7 separate regions of the Homo sapiens genome follow, and regions 2, 3, 4, 5, 6 and 7 are each linked to region 1. Evidence: promoter capture Hi-C in human tissues and cell types (Jung and others, 2019). All regions are on one chromosome and are shown on one strand. The core of a region is centred on a gene start or on the middle of the fragment in contact, and the rest is flanking DNA. Distances in the headings are between cores, read along the strand shown. Region 1 holds the start of EBPL (EBP like). Region 2 overlaps CDADC1 (cytidine and dCMP deaminase domain containing 1). Region 3 overlaps DLEU2 (deleted in lymphocytic leukemia 2). Region 4 overlaps DLEU2 (deleted in lymphocytic leukemia 2). Region 5 overlaps CAB39L (calcium binding protein 39 like). Region 6 has its middle 26 kb from the start of MIR3613. Region 7 has its middle 16 kb from the start of SPRYD7.

Region 1 (3,495 bases), core at 293-2,792:
GGGTTGTTGTGATGTTAAATAATGTAGGTTTGTTCCCGGACCAAACTGGGGGTTGGGCAGCCCAATAATGAGGTGCAGATGAACTGGGGAAGAAGAGTTTTTATTTCTGCAACCGGTTACAGGGAGAAGGTCTGGAAATTATTGCCAGACCAACTCATAATTACAAAGTTTTTCCAGAGCGTATATACCTTCTAAGCTATATGTCTACGTGTAAGAGTGCATTCATCTAAAGACGTAAGTGATTAACAACTTCTAATCCTGAAGACCTTCCTCTGGAGCCTCAGTAAATTTACTTAATCTAAATAGGTCTGGGTGCTGGGATGATTACCCTTATTTTGTCTCTTGCTAAATCATGGAGGCTTGTGGAATTCCTCCAGACTCCCAATAAACTTGTTTTTGGAGGCCTGGGGAGTTTCTTCAGACCCCCAATAAAACTTGTTTAATCCTAAACGGGTCCTGTTAAAAATTCCTTAGTTATCTTGTCATGCTTCAAGGCCCAAGAAAGGCCTAGGCAAAACTCTTGGTGGGCTTTTGTTACATTCCAGACTTTGGTATATGGGCACTGACTCTTTCAGCTTTTAATTTTTTTTTTGTTTTTTGAGACGGAGTCTCGCTCTGTTGCCCAGGCTGGAGTGCAGTGGCGCGATCTCGGCTCACTGCAAGCTCCGCCTCCCGGGTTCACGCCATTCTCCTGCCTCAGCCTCCGGAGTAGCTGGGACTACAGGCGCCCGTCACCACGCCCGGCTAATTTTTTGTATTTTTAGTAGAGACGTGGTTTCGCCGTGTTAGCCAGGATGGTCTCGATTTCCTGACCTCGTGATCCGCCCGCCTTGGCAAAAAGTGCTGGGATTACAGGCGTGAGCCACCGCGCCCGGCCTCAGCTTTTAATATTTAATTTAACCACTCAGTGCTGAAGCAGTTGTGATGGAGGCCTGCGATAGTGAAACCTGGCCTGCCACAGGTTAAACGCATCTATCGCCAAGCCAATAGGACTTACCGCTCCTCTCACCCACCCTTCTACTTTTCTGGATTTTTAAGAAATGGAAAGATTGTCAGAGTAGGCCATAAAGGCTTTAAGCCGGCTGGTGGCTGAAAACTCCCTTGGCCCCCAGCCTCCCTGGTAAGGCTTGCTGCAGCCTAATTAAAACCTTTTGCCCCTAAAATTCTGCCCCGGTCTACTGGCAAAATTTCCACTACCTAGGCTTCACTTTGTGGCTTAAAGTTTGAGCCTTGTTAAAAGCGAAACAACATCAAAAGGTGTGGCCCTATTACCAATCCTTTGGGCTCGGTTTGGGAACAGGTTTGGTCGAGGCGGTTGCGCAAGTTGGTGAGCACGTTCCTTCTACGGAACCTCCATGGGCGGCACCTGGCAAAACCACCGGACTCAGCAGGCTGGCCAGGGTGCGAGGCGGGCACGGAATCCTCGCTCTGGCCCCGACCCGGCCGGGGAGCCCCGTCCCTCCCCGGACCGCCTTGGCCAATCAGCTCCGCTCCTCCTTGGCCATCCGGCTCCGCCCCTTCCCGGCCAGCCCCGCCCCGTCGTTTCTCTCCCTGCTTTCCTCTGCCGCATGGTCCTGGGCCGTTGGCGTCGGAAGCCTGAAGCATGGGCGCTGAGTGGGAGCTGGGGGCCGAGGCTGGCGGTTCGCTGCTGCTGTGCGCCGCGCTGCTGGCGGCGGGCTGCGCCCTGGGCCTGCGCCTGGGCCGCGGGCAGGGGGCGGCGGACCGCGGGGCGCTCATCTGGCTCTGCTACGACGCGCTGGTGCACTTCGCGCTGGTAAGTGCCATCGCCTAGACCCTGCACTCCCCATCCCAGAGAGTGGGAGCGGGGGCGGCAAGGCGGGGTGAGGGGGTCCTGCGGCTTTTTGCAGCGAGCTGGCCGCCCCTCCCCCTGCTGCAGGAAGTCTGTTAGCTGAGAGGCGCCTGGAGGCCGCGGCGGCCGGAGTTCTGATTCCCAGGTCTGTGAACAGAGCGCAGCTTACCTTGTGCTGCCGATTCCTCCACCAAACTTTAAAAAAATTCTGTACGTGCTATGTTAGTTTAGAAGATACCTCAGCTTCCTCGGCTTTGTAACCTGCACGTAACTGTTGAACTGGACATAATTGAGAGTAGAATTGAGGTCATTTTTAAATGCCCCAGAGGGGGCAAGGAGAGATGCTTGCTCCGGAGGCAGCAAGGCTATTGTCGCAAAACCCGAAGCCTTTGCCAAGACAAACGAAACACCCGTGTCTAATGTGTGCCAGGCGCATTACTGAGTTTAAAATTTCAGATCTTTACAGCATCCATAAATTAGTTATTATTGTTCCCCATTTTACAGAGGTGAAGGTAGGCGCTGCAAAATTAGGTGACTTTCCAGTGCCACACAGCTGGCATGATTCTGAGGCAGTCTAGTCTGGCTCCCAAGTTTGCACTCTGTGTATCAGTCGAGGTCTTAGGAAATATGTGTCCTTAGAGATTCAACCCATTTTATAAAATAGCCAGGAAGGTTGTGTTTAAGGCATTTATATTGAAATGCCCCGCCCCCCACCACACACGCGCACGCACACACACACACACACTTTTAAGTTTTTTTTAAACTATGCCCAAGTATCAGTTTGTTTTTTTTTTTTTTTGTAAAGTTGACCTTGTTTAACTCTAGACACACCTGTGGCTAATGTGAAGCCAAAGTCAGTAGTATTGAGAAAGCAAGCCGAGTTTTGGGTAATCATCGAGTTCTGTAAATGTTTACGGGTTGGCTTTGTGCCCATGACTGATGTTGCTGGAATTCTTTTTATTCTGATAATCAACATGTAGAGATAAGGGACAGTGAATGTTTCTCTCAACTCCTTTATTTATAGAATTCTTTTTTTTTTTTTTTGTCTTTTTTTTTGTTGTTGTTCTTGAGACAGAGTCTAACACTGTTGCCCAGGCTGGAGTGTAGTGGCACTATCTCGGCTCACTGCAACCTCCGCCCCTTGGGTTAAAGCTATTCTCCTGCCTCAGCCTCCCGAGTAGCTGGGATTACGGGCGCCCGTCACCACGCCCAGCTAATTTTTGTGTTTTTAGTAGAGATGAGGTTTCACTATGTTGGCCAGACTGGTCTCAAACCCCTAACATCAGATGATCTGCCCACCTTGGCCTCCCAAAGTGCTGGGATGACAGGCGTGAGCCACCGCCACCGCCACCAGCCGAGAATTGATTTTTAAGCTATCACTTGAACACAAGGTTTCCCACAGAACAAGGGAGATAAAGCAGATTGCTAGGCCCGGTTAGAAAAAATGTATAACAAAATGTATAACATAACAAAAATGTTGCTAGGCCCAGTGAGAGAAAACTGTGTAACATATTGGCTGGGTATAACTGTATATAGCATATCAGAATGTATATATATAAAAATGTATAACATATCGGACACAGTGGCTCATGCCTGTAATCCCAGCATTTTGGGAGGCTGAGGCGGGTGGATCACGAGGTCAGGAGTTCAAGACCAGCCTGGCCAACATGGTGAAACCCCGTCTG
Region 2 (3,495 bases), core at 456-2,955, 440 kb after region 1:
AGACCACATCTCTATTAAAATAAATACATAAACAAATAAATAAATAAGGAGACAACAACAACAACAACAAACACATAGTACCTAACATGTGCCAGGCACTAAGACCTTTACAAATATTAACTCATTCATTTCTCATAAAAGCCTCATGTAGTATATACTAGTAACATTTCATTTTACAGATGAGGAAGCTGACACAGAGAGGTAGAGTTACCCAAAGTTATACAACTAGTAAGAGGCGGAGCCAGAGTCTGAACCCAGGCAGGCTGGCTGTAAAACCACTGGCTACTCTAAATTACTAGACTAAGGTGCTGCTCCAATGTTTATACTAGCATTACAGCATAAGTATTTTCTTATGTTAAGTGAAAAGGGTAGGATCCAGAGTTAAATGATCTCATGTAAGTAAAGAAAGTAAGAGAAAAAAGACTGAGAAACAATTTTTAAAAAGTAATTAGTCTCTAGGAGGTGGAATTATGATAAAATTTTTCTTCTGTCCATTTTAAAAATAACAAACATATATTACTTTGGTAACTCATAAAAATACTTTTAGTAAGACAAATGTTGGTAAAGTATCAAAAGCAGTATTTCCAATACAATTACATGTCTAATTGCATCTTGGTATTTCTGTGATTTACTCTGTACAACAAAAGCAGACTAAAGAATTTAAGTGAAACAATCTTATTACTTTAGCTTAAAGAAGACTTTTTTTCTCTTAATTGGAAAAAGTTTGTACTCAACTCTAAGAATACCATGTGCAAATAATACTGGAAAAAATATACTATAGTAAATGGTAAAGAAATATTAGGCACAAAATTGGGCAACATTTTGAGAAATTTAATATTTCCACAAGTATAAACACAATGGCAGCATATACTACATGCATATGAAATTTAGATGTATTCTTACTGTATAATTTAAAATTAATAACTTATCAACCCTGTAACAGTACCAAAACTGTCAAATACAAAATTGTGTTCCTGCTATGACTGCAACTACCTGCAAAATTATGTGGATATTAACTAGTACAAAAAGGAAATCCAAGAGAAAAAAATAGTTTTTAAAAATGTTGCAGCTATAAATTCAGTTTCAATGATAATGTTTGTACAATAAATAACACTATAAAAGTGGAGTACAATATGCTCCCTTTCATTCTGTATTCTTCCCCCACACTATCATTGGTCTTGCTTTTTTGCAATGGCCATGATATCAGAAGAACTAATGAAATTATATACTTCTGCTTTATTGACATTAAATATACAAGTAATTGACAACCTACAATCATGTTCTAAATACTTGGTAAATCTCCCTTTTCGGAATTTAAAACACATTTTTCTCATATAAACAATGTTAAAAATGATAGTCAAGTTCCCAAGTTAACATGCAAAAGCCTCTTTCACCCAGATCACTGCCAGAGTAATCCTGAGGCTCTCCCTCCCCAAGTGCCTTGGAGTCCCAAGCCCTGTAGGTAAGAACAGAAGTAAAGGCCTACCCAAGACCATGGTGAGAGGGTTGTAGTCCTAGGACACATGGGTATGGGAGCACAGCTGGAAAGACACCAATGCAGTGAATAGGAGCTGGGCATGCTCCAGGACCAGGAGCTAAGAGTGATAACCTTTCATATAGCCAAGTCAATCCTAGTTCCAGGTTGCCTGGCTTTCTGAAGACATGGATGTTCTTTGTTTTGATGCCTTCTGTACTCATTTCTATGTGTTATAACTTTCCATTTAAAAGCCTTAAATAGACATGCGTATGAGTCAGATTTCTAAATAAGATCCCAAATAAAATATCTGAAACAAAAGACTTATTTATTTTCATTTAGAAAACTTCCATGGTGCCCACCAGATGAAGGAATGAGATGCCAGGAAAACTTAAGAGTTGTTGGCTTGGGAGAAAATGAGAGTCATAACCTTGATCTTTTGTTAAACATGATATAAAGTTGTATAAAATTTTGTTGCTAATATAGTTTTGAAATTTCCTTGGTAGTATTTTTTTTAACAAAATGCTAACTGAAAGCTTCATCTCAGTTTTCTCAGATCCACAGCTTTCTCTATATAGTATGAGGAAACAGTAGGGTGTGTATTATTTGCAAATAAACTTCAACAATTAGTTGGCCAATCAATTCCTTCCTAATAGAAACATAAATGTCATTTCTCACTAATTAAATACAACTTGTGCCTGTTGAAAAAAAAAACTTAATTTCAGCACAGGATGTGGTGTGTATATAAAAAAACAGAACTAAAACGAGATCACATCTGGATATTTACAAAAAAAAGAACGCCTTTTCAAAATTTGTATTCAATCTCTAATATGTCCAGTTTTTATACGTTTTTTTTTCTTTTTTTTTTCTTTTTTTTTCTGTCGCCAGGCTGGAGTGCAGTGGCGTGATCTCAGCTCAATGCAATCTCTGCCTCCTGGGTTCAAGTGTTTCTCCTGCCTCAGCCTCCTAAGTAGCTGGGACTACAGGCACGCACCACCACGCCCAGCTACTTTTTGTATTTTTGGCAGAGACGGGGTTTCACCATGTTGGCCAAGATGGTCTCGATCTCTTGACCTTGTGATCTGCCTGCCTCGGCCTCCCAAAGTGCTGGGATTACAGGCATGAGCCACTGCACCCGGCCTAAAAGTCTTAAACCTCTAAATATTTGTTTCTAATCTGGCTCTTCAAAATAAATTTTATCTGAAAACAAAACAAAACAAAACAAAAAAAACACAACACTACATAAAATCCCTAACAGCTTGGAAATCTACTTTCATAAAATAATACTAAACTATTAACAAGTAGAAGGAATAAAGGAATTTCAAAATTAATGAAGGAAATGAAGAGCTTTCTCAGCCGTTAATAACATGTAGAGCCAGAGTGGGGGGATGAGGGTGAGAAATATGGAATAACGATGTATAATATTTTAAATAATGTTTTACTATCTATAAAACACTTCACATAGGAATTGGGGGAGGAAACTACACCAAGAGATATCATTTTATTATGAGAAGCGAATATCCTCACATCCTGTTAAAATTCCTCAATGCAATTCCTATATTGATAAGATAAAATCTAAACTCCTTTGCAAGGCATACAATGCTTTTTATGATATGATTCCTGTCTACATTGTCAAGCTCCTTTCCAGTCTCTTCCCTCTACCTAACTTCACTTTCTGGCCTGAGGACCACAAATTCTCTCATTGCTCCAAGCTTTTCCATGTAGAGTTCCTTGGCTTGGGCAAAAGTCCACTAATCCTTCATGTCTCAGTGCAAATACGACCTTCTCTGTGAATCCTTCCTTCACTTCCCCATATAGAGCCTGGCTCCCAGTCTTGCCAACATCTCTGCTTATACTATGTACTCACTCCACCAATTCTGTTTTAATTGTTTAAATGCCTAGTGTTTCTACTCATTAGAAAATAAAGACCATGTTTTTTCTGCTTTGTGTCTCCAGTGCCAAGCACAAAACCTCATCCACAGTAAAATGAAAAGAGTAGGTGGTCTCCTAAGAGTACTGTG
Region 3 (3,495 bases), core at 492-2,991, 410 kb before region 1:
TTCTTTTCTTCTTAAAGAAATCTTTCAAAATGTAAAAACCATTTTTAGTTCATGGACTATACAAAAACAGACTACATTTGGCCTCAGGGCCATAGTTTGATAACCTCTGGCCTAGAATATGATCGATTTGGGTAAATGTTTCATGTATACTTTGAAGAGAATATATATTCTATTACAGGTTGAGTATCCCTTATCCAAAATGCTTGGGACCAGAAGTGTTTCAGATTTCAAAGTTTTTTGGATTTTCTGAACATTTATATATATATATATAATAAGAGATCCTGGGAATAGGACCCAACGTATTGGGTCATGTTGGTGCTCAAAAAATTTTGGATTTTGGAGCATTTTGTATTTCAGATTAGGGATGCTCAACCTGTACTGTTAATTTGGTTACAGTGTTGCTTGAGTTTACTATATCCTTGTAAGTTTCTACTTGTTTTAGCAATCATTTAAAGAGGGGTATTGAAATCTCTAACTATGGATTTGTCTGTTTTTCCTTGCACTTCTGTCAGTTTTTGATTTACATATTTTGAAGCTTTTATTATTTGAGACAAAACCATGTAGGATTATTGTATCCTTCTGATTAACCAGCCCTTTTATTATTATAAAATGGCCTTCTTTATTCCTGGTAATATTATTTGCTCTGAAATCTACTTTATTTCATGTTAATATAGCCACACCAGTTTTCTTTTGACTAATGCCAGCATCAGTATGATATATCTTTTTCCATCCTTTTACCTTTTTTTTTTTTTTTTTTTTTTTTTGAGACAGAGTCTCACTCTGTCTCAAAGTGACTGTACTTTGAGTCACTCCAGGCTGGAGTACAGTGGCGTGATCACCACTCCCTATAGCCTTGACTTCCTGGGTTCAAGCTATCCTCCCACCTCAGCCTCCCAAGTAGCTGGGACTACAGGTGTGCACCACCACACTTGGCTAATTTTTTGTGGAGACAGGATCTCACCATATTGCCCAGGCTGGTCTCAGACTCATGGGCTCAAGTGATCCTCTTGCCTCAACCTCCCAAAGTGCTGGGATTACAGGCATGAGCCACTGTGCCTGGTCATCCTTTTATTCTTAATGTTATTATGTCTTTGTGTGTAAAATGTGTTTCTTTTTCTTTTTTTTTTTTTTTTTTTTGAGACGGAATCTCGTTTTGTCTCCCAGGCTGGAGTGCAGTGGCATGATCTCTGCTCACTGCAACCTCTGCCTCCTGCATTCGTCCAATTCTTCTGCCTCAGCCTCCCAAGTAGCTGGGATTACAGGCACCCATCACCATGCCTGGCTAATTTTTGTATTTTTAGTAGGGACGAGATTTCGCCATGTTGGCCAGGCTGGTCTTGAACTCCTGACTTCCGGTGATCTACCTGCCTTGACCTCCCAAAGTGCTGGGAGCCATCACACCCAGCCTAAAATGTGTTTTTTTATTGAGAGTATATAGTTGGATCTTGTTTTTTATTTTCCTTTCCCCCACCATCCAAAATTTTTTGTTTCGTTTTGTTTTGTTCTAAGACAGGGTCTCACTCTGTCGCCCAGGGTGGAGTGCAGTGGCACGATCATGGCTCACTGGAGCCTTGACTTCCTGGGCTCAAGCGATCCTCTTGCCTCAGCCTCCCAAGTAGCTGGGACTACAGGCATGTACCACCACACCCAACTAATTTTTTTTTTTAATTTTTTATAGAGATGGAGTTTCACTTGTTGCCCAGGCTGGTCTTGAACTCCTAGGCTCAAGTGATCTGCCCTCCTTGGCCTCCCAAAGTGCTGGGATTACAGGGATGAGCCACTGCGCCCAGGCCAAAATCTTTTTAATAAGATAGAGGATCCAGGGTTAGTTTTTGTAGCCTTGGCTGGCCCATCAGCCTCTGATGTGCTTGAATTTCTGGTCCCTGGAGTGGACACAGGGCTTAGTGTGGCTATGCTGGGTTCCCAGGGCCTTGCTGAAATGCCAGTACACTTCTTGGCCCTTGTGAGGCCCAGAGAGCAGGATGGTGCCACAGCCTTTGAGGGTGTCCAGGGTCAGCTGGTCAAAGGTGAGAATCTTGTCCCCAGCCTTGGGGATTTGGCTGCAGGCCCAACTGCTCATGTGCAGTGCACACACCTTCAGTTTGGGCACCTCCTGAACATGGTCCCCACAACCACAGCTGTTTTGTTTTCCTGGCCAGGAAGCTTCATCTTCCAGATCATCCAGGAAAGAGACAGAGATGGCCATTTGGTGCAACTCATAAATAACCTCTTCACCACAACTTGGTTGAAGGTAGAGTTTCTTCTGGCCAGAAACATATACAGCTTAACCAACAGCCTTCAGTAGATGTCCTGGCTCTTGGGTTCCTGGTGTTGAACCTTTCAGTCATTGTTGTGGCAGGAGTCAACTTCCGTGATGGTGCCTCCTGTTCATCCAGGTCCAAAAGCAGTCTTGCTTTTTATCTGACAATCTTTGCCTTTTAAGTGGGATATTTAGATAATATGCATTTAATGTGATTGCTGATATGATTACAGTCTATTGCCTTGCCATTTTTCTATTAGTTTCACTACTTATTTGTTCCTTTTTCCACCTTCTTTTGGGTTGAGTATTTTTTTGTGATTCTATCTTATCTCCTTTGTTGACTTATTAGCTATAACTGTTTTGTTATTCTACTGGTTGCCCTAGGGCAGTATACATCTTCACCCTACCACAGTCTACCTTCAGTCTACCTGATGGTAAAGAGTTGTTTTCGTATGTCTGAAAACATCTTTATTTTGCCTTTGTTTTTTGAATGATATTTTGCTGAGGTTAACATTTTTTTCTTTCAGTACTTTATGTTCTACTGTCTCTTCACTTGCAATGTTTCTAATGAGAAATCTGCTGTCAACCTTATCTTTGTTACTCTATAACATGTGGCTGTTTTCCATATTTTTTATAATTGGCTTTGAATAATTTGATTATGACATTCCTTGGTGTAGTTTTCTTCTTGTTGAGCTTCTTGGATCTGTGAGTTAATAGTTTTTGTCCAATTTGAAAATTCTGGCCATTACTTTTTCAAATATCCCTTTTGTATCTGCCTCTCCTCTCCTTTGATGCCTCTGATTATGTTTACATAAGGATTCTGTAAGTTTGTCCCATAGCTCACTGATGCTTTTGTCATTCTTTTTTCTCTTTCATTTTTGAGTAGTTTCTTTTGCTATATCCTTCAAGTTCACTAACCTTTTCTTCTGCCATGTCTAATCTGCTACAAATACCATTAGTAGATCTCAGATATTGTAGTTTTCATCCCTAGAACTGCATTGAGTTTTTAAAAATGTCTTTCATGTCTCTACTTTCTGAAAATATAGAATATAGCTATAATAATGTTCAATGTCTTTACTAGTTCTAACATCTTTCTCTGCTTAAGGTCACTTTCAGATGATTGATTGTTTTCATCATTGTGGATTATTTTTTCTGGCTTCTTTGTGTGCCTGGCAAGGCATTGTGAATTTTATCTGTTGGCTGCTGGATAGTCTTCTGTTCCTCTAAATGTTCCT
Region 4 (3,495 bases), core at 539-3,038, 390 kb before region 1:
AAGTCATTTATTACCATAGGAAAGCAACTGCGGGGTGTGGTGTTGCTATAATAGGTCACCCCTTTTTAAAGTTATGTTTACCTATTGTGGGGGAAAGGGGACTGGTAAGGTATCAGTCTTCCTGGTAGCATTGATTTTCATTTGTTTGCCCCCACACTATTTTTAAAAATTCAAATAAAAGTGCAGTTTCAGACTTTTTAAAAAAATACTGTTGACCTGTCTTAGTTGTACATTCAGAAAATGTAGCCTCGGGTGTTTGTATGTAACACTGCATATTTTTTCTAATCAGATTAATATGAGTTTTAATGTTTAGCATGAACTACAGCTAAGGATAAAAATTTTAAAGTAGCTTTCATAGTCTAGATTCCTGGTTTCATCATGCTTTATGTAGTACATTTTCGTTTGTTTTGTTTTGTGGAGACTTGTGTGTATTTTTGTTTGTTTGTTTGTTTATTGGTAGGTAGTAACTATTTGGAATGTCACAGAATACTTAAAGCCAGAAATATGGGTCAGTTGATTTGGTTTACAAAATGAAAAAAAATTCCCAGAGACTGTATTAGATAATTATTATATATGACACATTAGCTTTCTTCAAAAGAAGATGATAAATTTATAGTTTCAAAAAATTATTCTATAAAAATTTCTCTTATTTTAAAATATTACCTAAAATTGGCTCTTGTGTTTTTTTTCTTCTGTCTAATGAAGCTTAAAAATTCACATATTAATTTCTTTTTAACCCCTTTTTAGAAGACACAGATTTTAGGTCTGATTATAACTAGAAAACACATCTTAGAAAAAATTGTCATATATATAGTTTCGTGGGGGTTTTTGGTTTTGTTTTGTTTTTAATTCAGCAAACTTTGAAACATTGTATGCCAGGCAACTAATTTTGGCACATAATTAGAGCTCAACTATGACTTGCTGAAATTTTGTAGCCCCAAATCTCATAACACCAAAGGAAATCAGTAATAAAATACCACTTTATTTCAAATAAGCATTGAAAATGAGATTAAGCATTTAATTTTTGGAAGTGACAGTATTAGAACTTTAATGTCATGATTGTCTTAAGAGTAACAGGATAGATTTTTAGAATATCACATTACTATTATATGTTTATTTATCTCGTAGATCATATAAATATTACTTTCTGGTGGGGAACTGAATGTTTTTTATTTTTTTGCCTCGGTTGGTTTTTTGTTTTTATTTTTTGATCTGTATTAGAGATGCTTTAAAGGATCTTCCTTTTAGAAAGACAAGTTTTAAATATTGAAATTGATATTAAATATATATTTGAATATTATTAATATTTCTTATCAAATTATAAGAAGTTTACTATACCTTTGGTTAATCCTGCCTTATTTCAGTAAAGAAAATTTGTACTGGAATAACTTGTAGTGGTTTCTAAGAATAAATAGTAAGCTCTATTTTGTAATAGATTTTAGATTTGAGTTTTACTATTTGAAGGTTTTTTAATATTGCCTTTTTTATCATACACATTGGTTTATTATTTTATTTATATCCAGACCTCTTTTGCTTCTTATTGGTTAGTATTTTTCATCTCCCTACTATTTAAAAACTTAACATTTGGCATGTAGTACATTTTGTTTTCTACTATTTTCCTTCTATGATTTTTAAACTTAAGATACCTTAATTTTCAGAGTGCTCAAATATAGAAAACTGTCTGTCTTTTGAGGAAGACTGTGTATAAATGACGGTAATTTTTTAAAATGTCATGGTATTTGGATTGGTGTTTATGAGTTATGGATGATTGTGTGGGTTTTGTCATTAAACAATCAAATATTTGGCAACAGAGGAATAAAGGTTTTTTTAGGTTTTACTCTTTCATTTTCCTAAGCTATTCTTAAATATAACTGGAAAATTTATTCAGAGCATTATGATTTACATGTAATACATGATACACCTTTGGTAATTTAATATTTTTATACAGTCGATTGCCACTGAATCATTATAATTCAGAAAGGTGAAAGAAATGAAAAAAAACACTTAACATATATTCAGTTACATCTCTTAGAAACATTAAAAAACCATTTGGTCCAGTAGTGGTCCATTTATTATTTGTAAATATGTTAACTTGTTAAAAAAAAAAAAACTCCACATTTTGGTCTGTTAGGACTGTAATGTATTAAAATATTTGGAAATACTGATACTTTTCACTTAGGCTTGGCAGTAGACTAAAGTTGAAAATAATGGTAAATTCTTAGCCAGGCATGGTGGCAGGCACCTGTAATCCCAGCTACTCGGGAGGCTGAGGCAGGAGAATCCCTTGAATCCAGAAGGCAGAGGTTGCAGTGATCCTATATCGCACCATTGCTCTCCAGCCTGGTCAACAAGAGCAAAACTTCGTCTCAAAAAAAAAAAAAAAAAAAAAGAATGGTAAATTCTGTCATCATTAAAACATTTGATAATTTGGAGAGAAAGTAAAATTTCGTCCCTGTCCCTTCAGTAACTTTTTAAACTGTGTGGATTTTATGAGTTTTACAAGTACAAACTACATTTCTGATATTTTCTTTATGAACTCCTCTTGTACCAGTCCTCTAACAGCTACCCGCATACACACTCACCCATACTACTTTGAACATGAATGCCCTAAAGAGAAATGAAAGCAGAAACATATTAATCTGATTTGTTTGAAGAGGCTTCGGATGATAAAGCATATCACAGGTGTTTCTAATCAAGTTATTTCTATTTTTAAAACATTTTCAAGTTAGAGCTTCTCTGAACATTGGCAAGATTAGGGTCATTTTGAAGACCATACCTCTGTGTTCAGGGATCAACTGTGGAACTGCAGGAGATGGAAATCTGTTGAGTGTCTTCATGCTATAATACATGACATTTTTATTGCAGGTTTTGACCTGTAGCAGAGAACCAATTCTGGAGAACAGCCTCACTTCTTTGATTGAATACTTACATAATGCATTGGAACATGACATGAGATTAAGGTATACTAACAAATTTTAAAACCATATAATTTTATGTCTTTGCAATATAATCGGACTAGACAATTGGTAAAGTTGAAATTTTTACGTGAACTAAAATCAATAAGTAATTACTCATAAACAGAAATCATCATATGAAGTGGCCATAAGCTGAGTTGTCTAGCTTACTAAAACTCCAGATTTTTTTTTTATACAGGTAATGTTCTTCTCAGCATCCTAAGGTCTAACTCCAACTGAATTTATTCCAAAAATATGTATTTATAGTAATTTTTATTTTCTTAAGGTTATTACAGTGTACTCAGTAAAATATGAACTTTTCATCTTATAAAATGGAGAGTTTAAATCAAATGGAATTTAGTGCTTAGCTGTTTGACAGGTGGAAGAGTAGTAGGTAGAGCCTGCAAAATTAGGTAAAATTGATGAGAATATTTTAAGAAAATGTAAAGTATTCCAAGTACTGCCCTAACCAAAAGTGGCAATATGGTCGAAACTGAAAAAACCACTTTCTTAAGCAGAAATTACTAGTATCTTACTCAAC
Region 5 (3,495 bases), core at 268-2,767, 330 kb after region 1:
CACCATGCCTGGCAGATTGTTTGTTTTTCATACTATTAAGTTTTTTGGGCTTTGATGGGGGGTTGGGTTTTGGAGGGAGGGTGTTTGGAGAGCATGGGTTTTTTTTTTTTTTTTTTTTTTTAGACAGAGTTTCGCTCTTGTTGCCCAGGCTGGAGTGCAATGGCACGATGTCAGCTCACTGCAGCCTCTGCCTCCTGGGTTGAAGCGATTCCCCTGCCTCAGCCTCCTGAGTAGCTGGGATTATAGGTGCGTGCCACCAAGCCTAGCTAATTTTTGTATTTTTAGTAGAGACGGGGTTTCACCATCTTGGCCATGCTGGTCTCAAACTCCTGACCTCGTGAGAGCATGGGTTTTTATTTATTTCTTTTTTCTCTTTTTTTCTTTTTAATTTTTGTGGGTACATAGTAGGTAGTGTATATGAGATATTTTAGTACAGGCATGTAATGTGTAATAACCACATCATGGAAAATTGGGTATCCATCCTCTCAAGCATTTATCCTTGGTGTTACTAGATCTTATTCATTGTTTCTATTGTTTTTTGTACCCATTAACCATCCCCATCTCACCCTGACACACTCCCCTGCTACCCTTCCTAGCCTCTGGTAACCATGCTTCTATTCTTGATTTTCATGAGTTCACTTGTTTTAATTTTTAGATCCCACAAATAACTGAGAACATCTGATGTTTGTCTTTCTATGCCTGGTTTATTTCACTTAACATAATGGCCTCCAGTTCCATCCATGTTGTTGCAATGACAGAATCTCATTCCTTTTTATGACTGAATAGTACTTTATTGTGTATAGGGTACCACATTTTCTTTATCCGCATTTTCTCATCTGTTTTTGGACATTTAGGTTGTTTCCAAATCTTGGCTATTGTGAACAATACTGCAACATATATGGGAGTGTAGATATCTCTTTGATATACTGATTTCCTTTCTTTTGGGCATATACCTAAGAGTAGGATTGCTAAATCATATGGTATCTCTATTTGTAGTTTTTTGAGGAACCTCCAAATTATTCTCCATAGTAGTTGTACTAATTTACATTCCTACCAACAGCATATGAGGGGTTCCTTTTCCCCACATCCTCACCAGCAATAGTTGTTACCTGACGTTTACATGAAAGGCATTTTAACTGTCGTGAGAGGATATCTCGTTGTAGTTTTGATTTGCATTTCTCTGATAATCAGTGATGTTGAGCACCTTTTCATAGAAGGCCTGTGTTCTGTAGGTTTTCTCTTCACTTTGTTGATTGTACCCTTCACTGTGCAGAAGCTTTTCAATTTGATGTGGTCCCATTTGTCCATTTTTGCTTTGATTGCCTGTGCTTGTGGGGTTTTGCTCAAGAAGTTTCTGCCCAGACCAATGTCCTGGAGAGTTTCCCCAATATTTTCTTTTAGTAGCTTCATAGTTTCATAGATCTTAGATATAAGTCTTTAATCCATTTTGATTTGATTTCTGTATGTGACAAGAGATAGGGGTCTAATTTCATTCTTCTGCATGTGGATATTCAGTTTTCTCTGCACTATTTGTTGAAGACTGTCTTTTCCCCTCAATGTATGTTCTCAGCACCTTTGTAAAAAATGAGTTCACTGTAGGTGTGTAGATTTGTTTCTGGATTCTTTGTTCTGTTCCATTGGTCTGTGTGTCTATTTTTATGCCAGTATCATGCTGTTTTGGTTACTATATAGCTCTGTAGTATAATTCAAAGTCAAGTCATGTGATTTCTTCAGTTTTGTTCTTTTTGCTCATGATGGTTTTGGCTATTCTGGGTTTTTTGTGGTTCCATGTAAATTTTAGGATGGTTTTTTCTATTTCGATGAAGAATGTCATTGGTATTTTGATAGGGATTGCATTGAACCTGTAGATTACGTTGGGTAGTATGAACATTTTAACAATATTGTTTCTTTCAATCCATGGACACGGAATATCTTTCCTTTTTTGCATGTCCTTTTTAATTTCTTTCATCCATTTTTTTATAGTTTTCATTATGGAGATTTTTTTACTTCTTTGGTTAAGTTAATTTCTAGGTATTTAATTTTATTTGTTGCTATTATAAATGGGATTTCTTTTTTGATTTCTTCTTCAGATTGTTCACTGTTAGCATATAGAAATGCTACTGATTTTTGTATGTTGATTTTTGTATCCTGCAACTTTATTGAATTTGTTCATCAATTCTAATAGTTTTTTTGTGGAGTCTTTAGTTTTTTCCAAATATAAGGTTTTATCATCTGCAAACAAGGATAATTTGACTTCTTCCCTACCAATTTGGATGCCCTTCATTTCATTCTCTTGTTTGATTGCTCTGGCTAAGACTTCCAATATTATGTTGAATAACAGTGGTAAAAGTTGTCATGCTCCAAATCTAAGATCTGCTACTGTTGTATTGGGATCTGTCTCTCACTTTAGCTCTAATAATATTTGCCCTTCATTTCATTCTCTTGTTTGATTGCTCTAGCTAAGACTTCCAATATTATGTTGAGTAACAGTGGTAAAAGTTATCATGTCCCAGGTCTAAGATCTGCTATTGTTGTATTGGGATGTGTCTCTCACTTTAGCTCTAATAATATTTGCTTTACATATCTGGGTGCTCTAGTGTTTGGTGCATATATATTTACAATTGTTAAATCCTCTTGCTGAACTGACTCCTTTATTATTATATAATGACTTTCTTTGTCTCCTCTTACAGTTTTTGTCTTGAAATCTGTTTTGTCTGATGTAAGTATAGCTACTCCTGCTTGGTTTTGTTTGTTTGTTTTCATTAGCATGGAATATCTTTTTCCATGTCTTTATTTTCAGTCCATGTGTATCTTCATAGGTGAGATGTGTTTCTTGTAGGCAGCAGATCATTTGGGTCTTGTTTTTTTTTCATCCATTCAGCCATTCTGTGTCTTTTTTCTTTTTCTTTTCTTTTTTTTTTTTTTGAGACAGGGTCTCACTCTGTCATCCAGGCTGGAGTGTAGTAGCACAATCACAGCTCACTGAACCATTGACCTCCTGGGCTCAGGTGATCCTTACACCTCAGCCTCCCAAGTAGCCACTTTATGTCTTTTGATTGCAGACTTTAGTCCATTTACATACAATGTTATTATTGACAAGTGGGGGCTTACTCCTGCCATTTTGTTATTTGTTTTCTGGTTGTTTTTTAGTCATCTCTTCCTTCTTCTCTTCCTTTCTATCTTCCTTTTAATGAATGTGATTTTCTCTGGCACTATGCTTTAATTTCTTGTTTTTTATTTTTTTGTGTATCCATTGTATTTTTATATTTGAGGTTACCATGAGGCATGCGTATACCATCTTATAGCCCATTGTTTTAAATTGATGACAACTTAATACTAATTACATAAAGAAATGCACAGAAAGAAAACTAATAAGAACTCTACACCTTAACTTCCTCCCCCTGCTTTTTAACTTTTCGTTGTTTCTCTTTATGTCTTATTGTACTGTTTATATCTTGAAAAGTTGTTATTATTTTTGGTTGGTTCATCATTTAG
Region 6 (3,495 bases), core at 732-3,231, 280 kb before region 1:
TCTCTACTAAAAATACAAAAACTTAGCTGGGCATGCTGGAAGGTGCCTGTAATCCAGCTACTTGGGAAGCTGAGGCAGGGGAATCACTTGAACCCGGGAGGTGGAGGTTGTAGTGAGCCGAGATCACACCATTGCACTCCAGGCTGGGCGACAGAGTGAGACTCCACCTCCACCCCCCCAAAAAAAATAAAGGCTCTAGCATCTGGGAACCAGAATACAGGTCTAATCTTTCACAGTTCCTGCTGACCTAGGGTAGCATCACATTTCTAGACATTTCCCCAATATATTATTGTGAAAATTTGCAAACAGAGCAAAGTTGAAAAAATTTTATAGTGAACAGCATATACCTACCATGTAGACTACCACTAACATTTCACTATAGTTGGCTTATCACATGTCTGTACCTTTCTCTAAGCATTCGTCAATCCCTGTTTTTTTTTTTTTTGGGCGCATTTAAAAGTAAATTGTAGACATCAGTAGACTTCCGCCTAAATAACTCAGCATGTATATCATTGACTAGGTTAAATATTTGTTGACTTTTTTCTTTTGAAGTAAAATATGTATACAATGAAATGTATAAATCTTATGTGCTTGTGTGTAAATTTCCAAGTTTTAATAATAATAAATGCCTATACCTTTGTATCCCAAATTGCTATCGAGACATAGAACATTACTATCACTTCAGAAATTTCCTTTTTTTTTTTTTTAATTGAGACGGAGTCTTGTTCTGTCACCCAGGCTGGAGTGCGGTGGCACAATCTCGGCTCACTGCAGCCTCAACCTCGGGCTCAAGCAGTCCTCCTGCCTCAGCCTCCAGAGTAGCTTTTTTGTAGAGACAGGGTTTCACAATGTTGCCCAGGCTGGTCCTGAACTCCTGGGCTCCAGTAACCTGCCCACCTCTACCTCCCAAAGTGCTAGGATTATAGGACTGAGCCACCGCGCCCGGCCCCATAATTTTTTTTTTGAGACGGAGTTTTGCTCTTGTCGCCCAGGCTGGAGTGCAATGGCTTGATCTTGGCTCACTGCAACCTCCGCCTCCCGGGTTCAAGTGATTCTCCTGCCTCAGCCTCCCAAGTAGCTGGGATTACAGGCATGCTCACCACACCTGGCTAATTTTGTATTTTTAGTAGAGATGGAGTTTCTCCATGTTGGTCAGGCTGGTCTTGAACTCCCGACCTCAGGTGATCCGCCCACCTCAGCCTCCCAAAGTGCTGCAATTACAGGCATGAGCCACCACACCCAGCCGATAGGCCCCATAATTTTTTTAAGTCTTTTTTTTTTTTTTATTGCTGGGGGTACAGGACAAGGACAATAAAAATGTTGAATCTTCAATATATTCTGATTACAGCTTAAAATAGCTCAGGACAACTTGCAGGAGGTGTTACATCGGGGAAGCTATCATTGCGGGAGGTATTATACATCATCTTAAGAAATTATCTCAGGCCAAGCACAGTGGCTCACGCCTTTACTCTGGGAGGCTGAGGCAGGAGGATTGCTTGAAGCTAGGAATTCAAGACCAGCCTGGGTGACATGGCGAAACCCTGTCTCTACCAAAAATACAAAAATTACCCCACCATGGTGGCACACGGCTGTGGTCCCAGCTACCTGGGAGGCTTAGATGGGAAGATGGTTTGAGCCTGGGAGGCAGAGGTTGCAGTGAGCTGAGATTGTCCCATTGCACTCCAGCCTGGGCAACAGAGCCAGACCCTGTCTCAAAAAAAAAAAAAAAAAAGATCTCAAGTAATGAGATCTAGGAGAATGATTACGTGCTTACTTGCTATTCTCAAACTTCAGTCTCCAGTTGAAGAAAAGGCAAACATAAACATAGAGCCTCAGCAAACCTCTTTCCTGTTTCACATGCAACCTCCATTGACAGACACTCAGAAGGAATAGTGTTCACTGACACCCCCACCTTCTGTCCTATAACTCAAATGGCCTAGGGGCCTGCGACTGCTGGGCTCTAGACTGCTCTGGGGAGCTTTCTGTACTTTTTCTAATGCCTAGGCAAATTCAGTTCTTAAAACCAACAAGCCAATAAGTCTTTGTTCCCCTCAAATTATGTTTGAAGCAATTCAAAGTGCTAAGTATATATCTTAATAAAATAAAATTTATATTACCAGATTGGATCTTTATGTAATGAGCAGTTTGTTGTTGTTGTTGTTGTTTTTAATTGAGATGGAGTCTCGCTCTGTCGCCCAGGCTGGAGTGCAATGGTGCAATTTCAGCTCGCTGCAACCTCTGCCTCCTGGTTTCAAGCGATTTTTCGTGCCTCAGCCTCCCAAGTAGCTGGGATTACAGGTGCCTGCCACCATGCCCACCTAAGTTTTTTGTTTGTTTTTTTTTTTTTGAGATGGAGTCTCACTCTGTCGCCCAGGCTGGAGTGCTGTGGCGTGATCTCGGCTCACTGCAAGTTCCGCCTCCCGGGTTCACACCATTCTCCTGCCTCTACCTCCCGAGTAGCTGGGACTACAGGCACCCACCACCACGCCCGGCTAATTTTTTGTATTTTAAGTAGAGACGGGGTTTCACTGTGTTAGCCAGGATGGTCTCCATCTCCTGACCTCGTGGTCCGCCCGCCTCAGTCTCCCAAAGTGCTGAGATTACAGGTGTGAGCCACCGCGCCCAGCCAATGAGCAGTTTTCTATGCAACATTTCAGATGCAGCTTCTGGCTTTAGAACGTGGAACTTCAGTCTCATCTGTGCAGTACCTGGACATTGTGATATCATTAAAAAATACCGTATTAAAATACACTTTTAAAACTTTTATTATGGAAATTTTCAATCACACACAAAAATAGAATAATCAATCCTCCTGTACCCATCACCCAGCCCCAATAATGATCTTCTTAGGAAAATGCATTTTAAGATTCACCCATGTTTTTGTATGAATCAGTAATCTGTTCCTTTTTATTGCTGAGTAGTATTCCATTATATGGATTATCACAATTTATCATTTTCGATTGCTCATTTTGGGAAAATTATGTATAACTAGTCATATACATGTTTTTGTATGAATGTAAGCTTTCATTTCACTTGGATAAATACCTAGAAGTGAGATTGCTGGGTCACATAAGTATATGCTTAACTTTATAAGAAACTGCCAAATTTGTTTTTCCAAAGTGGCTGTACCATTTTGTATTTCCACCAGCAATGAATGACTCTGTTACTCCACATCAAGGCCAATATTTTGTATTCAGTTCTTTATTTTAGCCATTGTAATAGGTGCATAGTGGTATCCCATTGTGGTTTTAATTTGCATATCCTTCATGACTAATGATGTTGAATATCTTTCCCTATGTTTATTTGCCATCCATACATCTTCTTTGGGGAAGACAGACATTTGCACAGTTTTAAGTTTAATTATTTGTTTTATTATTGTTATGGCTAAAGAGTTCTTTATATATTCTAGATACAAACTCTTTATTGGATATGTGATTTGCAAATATTTTCTCCTTGTCTATGGCTTGTATTTTCATTCTCTTCACAGATTTTTAT
Region 7 (3,495 bases), core at 293-2,792, 260 kb before region 1:
CCGGGCGTGGTAGCGGGCGCCTGTAGTCCCAGCCACTCGGGAGGCTGAGGCAGGAGAATGGCGTGAACCGAGGAGGCAGAGCTTGCAGTGAGCCGAGATGATGCCACTGCACTCCAGCCTGGGCGACAGAGTGAGACACTGTCTCAAAAAGAAAAAAAAAAATTTTTTTTTCTCTCCCCTACCTGATGCGGTGGTCCCAAGACCACAGCTGCAACTACAAGTGCTAGAACAGCAAGGGTGAGTTCTAGGCAAAAAAGCCTATGTTTTTAAAGCTATGTCAAAATTTCTAAGGGCAGATGGGGGTGGATTGTGCCTTCACCCCATCTAGCAAAATTGGGGCTAAGAGTGAATGCAGCTATATTGCCTGGTGTTGAAAAGAGCTCACTAGTTCTGTACCTGTGTAACCTTACCCTATGTGAATGGGAGTGAGATACTTGCTAGACCTGTATTGAGGAGGAGATACTTGCTAGACTTGTATTGCTACCTGCAATCTAGACCAGCATAGTGGTGATTCTAATGTCCCTTCCAAAGGTGAAAAGGTTTGGGTATTAATGGACAGAAGGAAAAATAATAGCTGAGAGTAAATAAATAAATAAAGCTGGGCACATTGGCTCATGCCTCTAATCCCGAAACCTTGGGACATCAAGGCAGGAGGACTGCTTGAGCCCAGGAGTTTAAGACCAGCCTGGGCAACACTGGGAGACCTTATCTCTACAGGAAAAAAAAACAAAAACAAAAAGTAGCCAGGCATGGTAGTGCATACCTGTGGTCCCAGCTACTCAGGAGGCTGAGGTGGGAGGATCACTTGAGCCTGGGAGGTTGAAGCTGCAGTAAGCAGAGATCATGCCACTGCACTCCAGCCTATGTGACAGAGCCAGAACCTCTCTCAAATAAATAAATGAGTTATTAATTGAGGAAAATTCAATATCACATTAACAAGTCAAAAGAGTCTCAGGGCAAGAGATGACATTTTCTCGTAGCTCAATTATTCCAGATGCCTGAAAAGGTGAAGCTGTGTATTTACCGAGGCCACTTCTGCTTTTGGAACCTGACAAGATTGAGAGGAAACCTGTAAACCCGAGTGGCCTCATCCTGGGAATCATTCGAACAGTATAATGGGCTGGATTGATTATTAATGATTGTGTATGTATGTATACATAATCATTAATAAAACATATATTTTATGTAAAGGATCCATGGTTGAAAACCAGAGGATGGCGTGTGGTGTTACGCTATATATTGGTTTTTGTCCACAGTTCCTGGCTCCAACTCCCATAGTGCTTGTTACAGTTTTTTGTTAGAATATTGGGTGGGTTAGGGCTGGGCACGGTGGATCACACCTGTAATCCCAGCACTTTGGGAGGCCGAGGCAGGTGGATCACTTGAGGTCAAGAGTTCGAGACCAGCCTGGCCAACATGGATAAACCCCATCTGTACTAAAAATACAAAGTTAGCTGGGCATGGTGGCACGCACTTATAATCCCAGTTACTTGGGAGGCTGAGGCAGGAGAATTGCTTGAACCCTGGGGGTGGAGGTTGCAGTGAGCCAAGATTGTGCCACTGCACTCCAGCTTGGGCAACAGAGTGGGACTCCATCTCAAAATATATATATATATATATATATTTATATATGTGTGTGTGTGTGTGTGTGTATATATATACACACACACACACACATATATGGTGGGTTAAGACTCAGGGGCAGGCCTCTGACCTCCCACCCTCCTTCCACTCTAATGTTCCCCAACCTGTCTGATTATAGATCTTAAGACCTTCTCATGAGAGAGTACCACCCTATACCCTGGGGGAAGGAATGCTGATGTCATGAAGCTTCCATTACAACCCAAGAGGACAAGGTTCAGTGAGTTTCTGGATAGCTGGAGGTTTCTGGAGGGTGGTGCATCCAGGGAGGTGCATCCATAGAAGCTCCGCACCCCTTCCCGCATACCTTGCCCTACCTATCTCTTCATGTGTATTTTTTGTAATATCCTTTATAATAAACCCGTAAATGTAAAAACAAAACAAAAAACAACACAGTTTTCTCATATTATAGTTCTAGAGTTTAGAAGTCTAAGGTGGGTCTGAGAGGCTGTGTCAAAGGCATTTGAACCAGAGCAACTCCGTCTTGAATAGGGGCTGGGTAAATGAGGCTGAAACCTACTGGACTACATTTCCAGACAGGCATTCTAAGTCACAGGATGAGATAGAAGGTCGGCACAAGATACAGGTCATAAAGGCCTTGCTGATAAAACAGGTTGCAGTAAAGAAGCCAGCTAAAACCTACCAACACCAAGGTGGCAACAAGAGTGACCTTTGGTCGTCCTCACTGCTACACTCCCACCAGTGCCATGACAGTTTACAAATGCCATGGCAACATCCGGAAGTTATCCTATATGGTCTAAAAAGGGGAGGCATGAATAATCCACCCCTTGTTTAACATATAATCAAGAAATAACTATAAAAATGGGCAGCCAGCAGCCCTCAGGGCTGCAGTCTAAGGGGTAGCCATTCTTTATTCCTTTACTTTCTTTTTGAGATGGAGTCTCACTCTGTCGACCAGGCTGGAGTGCAGTGGCGCAATCTCAGCTCACTGCAGCCTCCACCTCCCAGGTTCAAGCGATTCTCCTGAATCAGCCTCCCAAGTAGCTGGGACTATAGGCATGCACCACCATGCCCAGCTGATTTTTGTATTTTTAGTAGAGACGGGGTTTCACAATGTTGCCCGGTCTGGTCTGGAACTCCTAACCCCAAGTGATCCACCCACCTTGGCCTCCCAAAGTGTTGGGATTACAGGAATGAGCCATCACGCCCAGCCAAGATGGGTGGATCACCTGAGGTCAGAAGTTCGAGACCAGCCTGGTCAAAATGGTGAAACCCCATCTCTACTAAAAATACAAAATTAGCCAGGCGTGATGGCTCATGCCTGTACTCCCAGCTACTTGGGAGGCTGAGGCAGGAGAATCGTTTGAACCTGGGAGGCAGAGGCTGCAGTGAGCCAAGATCACACCATTGCACTCCATCCTGGGCAACAAGAGTGAAACTCCATCTCAAAAAAAAAAAAAAAAAATCTCATAATGTTTTAGGAAAGTTTACAAATTTGCAAATTTGTGTTGGGCCACATTCAAAGCCATCCTGGGCCACATGCAGTCTGTGGGCCACAGGTTGGACAAGCTTGTTCTAGAGGCTGTCCACATTCCTTGTTCCACAACACTCCAACCCCTGCTTCCATCATTACATATCTGATCATCCTACCTCCCTCTTATAAGGACCCTTGTGATTGATTATATTGGGCTCACCAGGAATAATCTGAGATAATCTCTCCATCTCAAGATCCTTGACTTAATCATTTCTGCAAAGTCCCTTTTGCCATATATTCACAGGTTCTGTGGTTTAAGATGTGGAGATCTTTGGGGGTCATTATTCTGCCTAACAGGTGTGAATAATTATATTTTTTACCCCGATTTTTTTTTTAAGACAGAGTCTTACTCTGTTGCC

The links. The method cuts DNA at HindIII sites, captures the fragments that hold promoters and counts their contacts. A contact is called where the count stands out against the background at its distance.
Region 2: a contact is called between a fragment that was not itself captured here and the fragment with the promoter of EBPL in region 1, in 1 of the 25 tissues and cell types used here (dorsolateral prefrontal cortex).
Region 3: a fragment that was not itself captured here is called in contact with the fragment with the promoter of EBPL in region 1 in 1 of the 25 tissues and cell types used here (hippocampus).
Region 4: a fragment that was not itself captured here is called in contact with the fragment with the promoter of EBPL in region 1 in 1 of the 25 tissues and cell types used here (aorta).
Region 5: a fragment that was not itself captured here is called in contact with the fragment with the promoter of EBPL in region 1 in 1 of the 25 tissues and cell types used here (lymphoblastoid cells).
Region 6: a contact is called between a fragment that was not itself captured here and the fragment with the promoter of EBPL in region 1, in 1 of the 25 tissues and cell types used here (hippocampus).
Region 7: a fragment that was not itself captured here is called in contact with the fragment with the promoter of EBPL in region 1 in 2 of the 25 tissues and cell types used here (IMR-90 fibroblasts and aorta).

Annotation. Positions count from the first base shown.
Region 1 is chr13:49,689,533-49,693,027 of GRCh38, reverse strand. It overlaps EBPL (EBP like), which reads left to right and starts at 1,542. Exons shown (of 4, transcript NM_032565.5): 1 at 1,542-1,774. The coding sequence starts at 1,604. RefSeq lists silencers at 1,417-1,616, 1,647-1,786 and an enhancer at 1,250-2,247. The HindIII fragment of the contact is 15,697 bases long and covers 1-3,495 here.
Region 2 is chr13:49,250,248-49,253,742 of GRCh38, reverse strand. The region is part of intron 2 of CDADC1 (cytidine and dCMP deaminase domain containing 1); the gene reads right to left. Among named protein-coding and RNA genes, the nearest start is that of CDADC1, 4.1 kb to the right of the region's middle. The HindIII fragment of the contact is 5,612 bases long and covers 1-3,495 here.
Region 3 is chr13:50,098,206-50,101,700 of GRCh38, reverse strand. All of the region lies in intron 1 of DLEU2 (deleted in lymphocytic leukemia 2), which reads left to right. All of the region lies in intron 2 of DLEU1 (deleted in lymphocytic leukemia 1), which reads right to left. It also overlaps the pseudogene RPL18P10. Among named protein-coding and RNA genes, the nearest start is that of DLEU1, 18 kb to the right of the region's middle. The HindIII fragment of the contact is 3,724 bases long and covers 1-3,495 here.
Region 4 is chr13:50,075,024-50,078,518 of GRCh38, reverse strand. It overlaps DLEU2 (deleted in lymphocytic leukemia 2), which reads left to right. Exons shown (of 14, transcript NR_152566.1): 2 at 2,866-2,960. Among named protein-coding and RNA genes, the nearest start is that of DLEU1, 5.4 kb to the left of the region's middle. The HindIII fragment of the contact is 4,740 bases long and covers 1-3,495 here.
Region 5 is chr13:49,363,253-49,366,747 of GRCh38, reverse strand. All of the region lies in intron 5 of CAB39L (calcium binding protein 39 like), which reads left to right. Among named protein-coding and RNA genes, the nearest start is that of CAB39L, 79 kb to the left of the region's middle. The HindIII fragment of the contact is 5,875 bases long and covers 1-3,495 here.
Region 6 is chr13:49,969,156-49,972,650 of GRCh38, reverse strand. No RefSeq gene overlaps it. Among named protein-coding and RNA genes, the nearest start is that of MIR3613, 26 kb to the left of the region's middle. RefSeq lists a silencer at 1-46. The HindIII fragment of the contact is 5,900 bases long and covers 1-3,495 here.
Region 7 is chr13:49,950,722-49,954,216 of GRCh38, reverse strand. No RefSeq gene overlaps it. Among named protein-coding and RNA genes, the nearest start is that of SPRYD7, 16 kb to the right of the region's middle. The HindIII fragment of the contact is 5,612 bases long and covers 1-3,495 here.